2 separate regions of the Homo sapiens genome follow, and region 2 is linked to region 1. The links are contacts of gene promoters, found by promoter capture Hi-C in blood cells and fetal thymus (Javierre and others, 2016). All regions are on one chromosome and are shown on one strand. The core of a region is centred on a gene start or on the middle of the fragment in contact, and the rest is flanking DNA. Distances in the headings are between cores, read along the strand shown.

Region 1 (2,996 bases), core at 183-2,682:
GCTCGTTTGAGCCTCTCCCATTGCCTTGTTTTCACAGCTCCCTTTTATGAGAAAGAAAGTGGGGGTGGGGGAGTTGGGAGGGAGACTAGAGCTATGCAGACGGGAATGCCAGGCTGGGAATACCAACAAACAGTGTGCTGCATGTCAGGCAAATTAAAACTTCTAGCCTGGAGGAGGCTGTAATCGTGTTTGCGGTTAGTCTGAAAACAAGCTACACTGAACTTCTATCTCCCAGGAAAACAGTCGAGTGTGGACTGAAGTCAAAAATGAGTATTTTTAGCAAGCATTCTCTCTCTTCCGTTTATTTTCTTCCTTCTTCTGTCTTTAGATATTAGAAACGCTAATTACATGAAGTATCATTATTATTCGAAGAAAGCACAGTTAGAAGGGTTAAAAATAAAAAGATGCCAAACCAACAGAAGCAGTACAATCCTAAGGAGGAATATATTTTAATTTTTCCCTGTACCCACGAGGTTCAGTTTGTGGGTCCAAGGGACCCAACCCCAATACCCAGTGAATGGTCATACCTGCAGGAAATATTTGGGCCAGTGTGGTGGCCCCCGCGGCTGTGGCCCCGTGGCCTGGCTCCTTGCCTTCCAGGGCAGGAGGGGACTCCGGGCTGCAGGCACAGGCTAAGGTCCGAGCTGAGGTACCAGGGAGCGGGGAGGGACAACAGCCCAAATAACAGCAGTCAGAAGGAGGAGGGAGTCCGGGAGCGGGAGAGAGACACAGAGACCCCGAGGGAGGCGTGAGGGGCGCAGAGCTGGTGGCCCGGGTCCGAGAGGTCGAGGGGCCGCGCGCGGGTGAGAACGAGCCCCGGCCCCCGCCCTCGGAACTGAGTCGATATTCCTTTTTTTGCTGTTTGAGTTTTCTCTTTAGAGTCGGACCCCGGTCCCAGCAGCAGTCTCAGAACAGAGGGGAGCCGAGGAGTCCCTGCCGGGAGGCCATCCCTCTGCGGGCCCCAGGGCGCCCCTGGGGGCGGCCAGGGCGGGCGCGGGGAGATGGGGAGGCGCCGAGCGGCCCTGGAGATGCCCGCGTCCCGGGGCGCCCGCAAACTTTCCCAGACACGGCGGGAGGCCCCACCCTGGAGAGGGGGGGTCCCAGGCCTCCCGTCTCTGTCCCCTGGGGCTGGTCACTCACCGGCAGCGCGGTTGGGGCTCCGATTCTGGCCGCAGCCAGCCACACCAGGAGGCGGAGGAAGAGGAGGGGGAGGAGGAGGGGGAGGAGGAGGGGGAGGAAGACCCGGGGCCGCCGAGTGGAGGGCGGGGAGGGGCGGCCGCGGCGCAGTGACTCCTCCCGCTCCCGCCCCCGCCCCCGCCCCTCCTCCCCTGCTGAGCCTCCCTTCTCTCTTCACGCCTTCTTTCTCACCCCGAATCCCCCAAAGTTTTTCTGGTGTCCGACGCTCCGTTCTCTTCCCTCCAGCGCATCTTCTGTCCCCGAGTCTCCAGCCTCCCAGAGGAGGGGAGAGCGCTCCCTCCTGCAAAAGTCGGGGGGCGGGGGCGGTAAGTCTATGAGTTACCTTTCGATGCCCTCTTGAAGCAGATAGCTTGGACCCGTGGAAGGTCTGAAGCCACCCAGCACCCCCAGACCTTGTCCTCACCTCTGGGTGGGGATGATGGAGGGCCTTTGCGGTCGTGCTTTCTAAGTTGCTTCATGGAGTTTTGTTTTGTTTTGTACCCCCCGCCTCACCCCACCCCCACCCCCCACCCCCCACCTTGTAATTAGGAGAACTAAAGAATTATATTTGAAAGGTAAAGATGAAGCCCCACCTTCCTGGGCGAATCAATCATAGCAGGAGGAAGGACACAAGATAGTTTAGTGAGGGCCAAGCTGTGGGGGTGGGGAGGAGGTAAACGCGTCCAGATGCCTCCTCTTTGCTGCCTCAAGAGTGCATGGAGAGGGAGAAGGGGCGTTGTCCTCCCAGGAGAGGCTGCAGGGTGTCTCGTAGTCCCTATTCCATCGCCTGCTGGCAAATGACTCCAGGCAAGTCACTTGGCATCTCAGCCTCTTCCTCAAGGGGGGCTGCCTCACTGGGAGCCAGTCAGAATGAAGGCACCCTCCCCACCCCTTTACCCTGGAGAGACACCAAAACCCAGGACGAGAGACTGAGCTGAGTTTGAACAGGCTCAGAGGGGAGAGAAGAGGGCATTTTAGGCCCCATGGCATGGTGCTTTGGAGGTTGGCAAGACTGGAAGGCTTAGGGTAAGTGGGCAATGTTTAGATGGGAAGGTGGAGCTGGGCATGAAGCAGAATACAGGAAATCTCTGAAAGTTTTCAAGCGAAGGTGTAGAGTAGGCACTCAGTGAATCCTTGAGGATTCAAAATGGCAAATAAGAAATATTGGTTTAACAGTCCTGTAGGATGGACCACCTAGGAAGAAAGGGGTTGCATCCAAAGAGAGGGGTTAGGAGGCCCCGGTGAGCATCTCAACTTGAAGTACTATGCTGGAAGGTGGAAAGGCAATGAATTATTTTTTAATCGTAAATTTCCTTGAGGAGCTGGGCTAACTCATAGGCAGTGCACCCAGGGTTGGTGAAAATCAGTGGACACTTCTTTGTATTTGCACAGCAGTGTAATTCTTTTTTAAATGTTCTGTCAGGTGTAGCCTTGTTTTTGACCTTGGAGTTCGCTGGTGAAATGGAAATATAGTCAGTACCCTATTTGACCTCCAGCCAGTGTTAAGAACCTGCCCTCGGGGCTTTGAGGAAGGAAACTGACGTTCCAGGAGGGCACTCCTCGAGCGCCTGAAATCACACAGCCAGGATCTATTTAGGATACTTTTATTCTCAGATAAAACTACTAATTGTGCTTATGCTTAATATATCCTAAACACAGAAAAAGGCACTGGTTTCTCCTCAGCTTCTCATTTCCTCCAGCTACCTTCCAGTAATGGTTAAGAGTTGAGGAAGGGCAACTTGCCTAGGGAAGAGGAGAGCCTAGGGAATAGGAAGTCAACTGACTGGCTGGTTAACTTGTCAGAGATTGTTCCATGGAAA
Region 2 (2,996 bases), core at 371-2,870, 430 kb after region 1:
CAGCTACTCGAGAGGCTTAGGAAGGGAATCACTTGAACCCAGGAGGCAGAGGTTGCAGTGAGCCAAGATTGCACCACTGCCCTCCAGCCTGGGCAACAAAGCAAGACTCTGTCTCAAAAAAAAAAGATAGTGAAACTAGAAGGTGTTTTGTGTGCAGCAAACTTATGACTCGTAGGCTTTGCTGTACATGGATCAGGTGGGGACCCAGCTATTTCACTGAGGAATTTCCAAATATCAATAGGTTGAGCACTTGTCCCTACAGCCAGTTTCTTTGGGAAAGAATCCTCTAATCACCCATTGAGATGGCATTATGCCATTTGTTCAGAGTTTTGAAAGTGGAAAAAGGGAGTAGAATGAGGATCCAACAACTCTTATAATTGTCCCTCTATTTTTCATTGTCATGTCTCGCACCGCCATGGTTCTTGTGGATTTGCAAGTGATTATCCACTCATCAGTGTTCCACTCAGTGATTTATAACCTCCTACACTCTGCAATCAGTTTTCTCGCCTCCATTTGCTTTCCAGCTTGCAAAATTTTGTTTGCATCTCTTGAGTGCTAATGTCTCTTCCTTTTGTTCTTGTGTCTTTATATATTTCCATCTTAGCTAGTAACATAATTACTCATTTTCTCACCTGCCAGAAATCAGTATTCACTCTAAATTCCTCTTCTCTCTCATCCTTCCACATCCAATTGTTCAGCAAGTCTGACTGTTATATTCTAAATTTATCCAGGATACATACTCACCAATACTACTTTAGATCTCTCACTTGAACCATTATACAAACTTCCTGGAGAGTAGCTTGCCTTCAATCCATCTTTTTGCACATCACTACGTGACTTTTTTTGCTGTGATGGAAAAGACGTCTATTCCTGTGATGGCAGGATCTTCTACCATTACTTGTCCTCTCTGACTCCTCTAGAGAGAATTAATTCTACCCTTCTCTGTGCAGCTTTGGTGTCTTATGTATATGGCTAATGTGGCACACATCATTCAGTTCCATATTGTTTATTTATTTTGCATTTGGCTCCCACTAGACCATGAGCTTCCTTAAGCCAGGTACTAATCATGACTAATTTAGGTTATTATCTCCAGACCCTAGCATAGTACCTAGTAAAAGGTAAATTGCTTACTTTAAGTAATAAATGAGTCACATGGCACATGTATACATATGTAACTAACCTGCACGTTATGCACATGTACCCTAAAACTTAAAGTATAATAAAAAGAAAGAGAAAAAAAAAAGAAAAAGAAAATGTGGTACATATATACCATGGAATACCATGCAGCCATAAAAAAGAATGGGGTAATGTCCTTTGCAGGGACATGGATGGAGCTGGAGGCCATTATCCTTAGTAAACTAATGTAGGAACAGAAAACTAAATACTGCATGTTCTCACTGAGAAGTGGGAGTTAAATGATGAGAACACATGGGCACACAGAGGGGAACAACACACTCTAGGGCCTATCAGAGGGTGAAGGGTGGAAGAGGTAGAGGATCAGGAAAAATAACTAATGGGTATAAGGGTTAAGACCTGGGTGATGAAATAATCTGTACAACAAAACCCCATGACACAAGTTTACCTATGTACCTGCACATGTACCCCTGAGGTTAAAATAAAAGTTAAAAAAAAAAGTAATAAATGAGTCATGAATCAATACATATGTGTATCTTTTATATCCATTTATATGTCTTTGGACTTACATGATGCATATATAGATGTTTCTATCTTTGTGTATGTGTACAGGTACATGTGTTGCTACAATCTGAGGTAAGTTCACCTTATGAAATTTTAGATAATAAAATTAATTTGAAGGAATGTGATTAGTCACTTTTGATTAAGTAAACTATCTTGAGAGATTCTTATACATGTGTTACTGATAAAACTTGAATGCTTCCTAAATATTATCAAAGATCTATGGTTTCTTTCAGATAGCTAAGAAGTTAAAATATAAGTCATATAACATAACCCATATTGTGATTAATTTTAATAAGTTCAAAATAGTAATGACAAAACAAAAACTCAGAGGTAGACTTGTAATCTGTTCACCGTCACTTACCATTCTGGAACTCTTCATTATTTTGCGTAGATCCAAATTTCCCTCCAGTATCATACCCCTGCCTAAAGAACTTCCTTTAATGTCTTGTATTTCAGGTTTGCTAAATGAGTTCTCTCAGACGTTGTTTGTCTAAAATAGATTTGATTTAATTTTCGAGATCATTTTAACCAGGTATTATATTCTGAGTTGATAATTTTTTGTCTTTCAATATTTTAAGGATATTGCTCTACTTTCTTTTTTCTTGCATTGTTTCTCATGAGAAGTTTATTGCCATTATCATCCTGTTCCTCTGTTTGTAAGGTTTCTTTTTTTCCTTTCGGTTACTGTCAAGGTTTATAACCTCCTACAATCTGTAATCAGGTTATTTCTCTGAGTTTGGATTTGTGATTTGTTGTTTGTTTTTTTTCCCATCAAATTTGGAAATTCTCAGCTATTATCTCTTCAAATTTCTCTTCTTTACTTCTTCTATAACTATATGTATATTAGACTCTTTGATGTTGTCCTACAGCTCTTGGTTGCTATATTCTGTTTATCTCCCTCATTCTTTTTTTTCATTTGTATTTCACTTTACATCATTTTTATCCACCTATCTTTAGGTTTGTTGACTCTTTCTACTGTATCCAATTTGCTGATAAGTCTGTGTATATGTTTATGCCTCTTGTCTTTTATTTCTTTATTTGCTTATTTTTATTTATGTATTTATTTATTTTTGAGACAGGTTCTCATTCTGTCATCCAGGCTGGAATGCAATGGCACCATCTCTGCTCACTGCAGCCTCTGCCTTCCAGGTTCAAGCGATCCTCCTGCCTCAGCCTCCCGAGTAGCGGGGACTACAGGTGCATGCCGCTATGCCCAGCTAGTGTTTATGCCTCTTGTCTATCCATTCCACTAGATCCCATAATACCACACTCATAATTATTTCAAAGTGAACTGCCTG

The links. Contacts are between HindIII fragments. The CHiCAGO score rates a contact against its expected background, and 5 or more counts as called.
Region 2: a fragment that was not itself captured here is called in contact with the fragment with the promoter of STON1-GTF2A1L in region 1 in 1 of 17 cell types (neutrophils); the score reaches 5.2 in neutrophils.

The regions. Positions count from the first base shown.
Region 1 is chr2:48,528,361-48,531,356 of GRCh38, reverse strand. It overlaps STON1-GTF2A1L (STON1-GTF2A1L readthrough), which reads right to left and starts at 1,432. Exons shown (of 11, transcript NM_001198593.2): 1 at 1,369-1,432. It overlaps STON1 (stonin 1), which reads right to left and starts at 1,203. Exons shown (of 4, transcript NM_006873.4): 1 at 1,141-1,203. RefSeq lists a silencer at 872-1,071 and an enhancer at 663-1,210. The HindIII fragment of the contact is 9,785 bases long and covers 1-2,996 here.
Region 2 is chr2:48,095,175-48,098,170 of GRCh38, reverse strand. No RefSeq gene overlaps it. Among named protein-coding and RNA genes, the nearest start is that of FBXO11, 190 kb to the right of the region's middle. The HindIII fragment of the contact is 6,013 bases long and covers 1-2,996 here.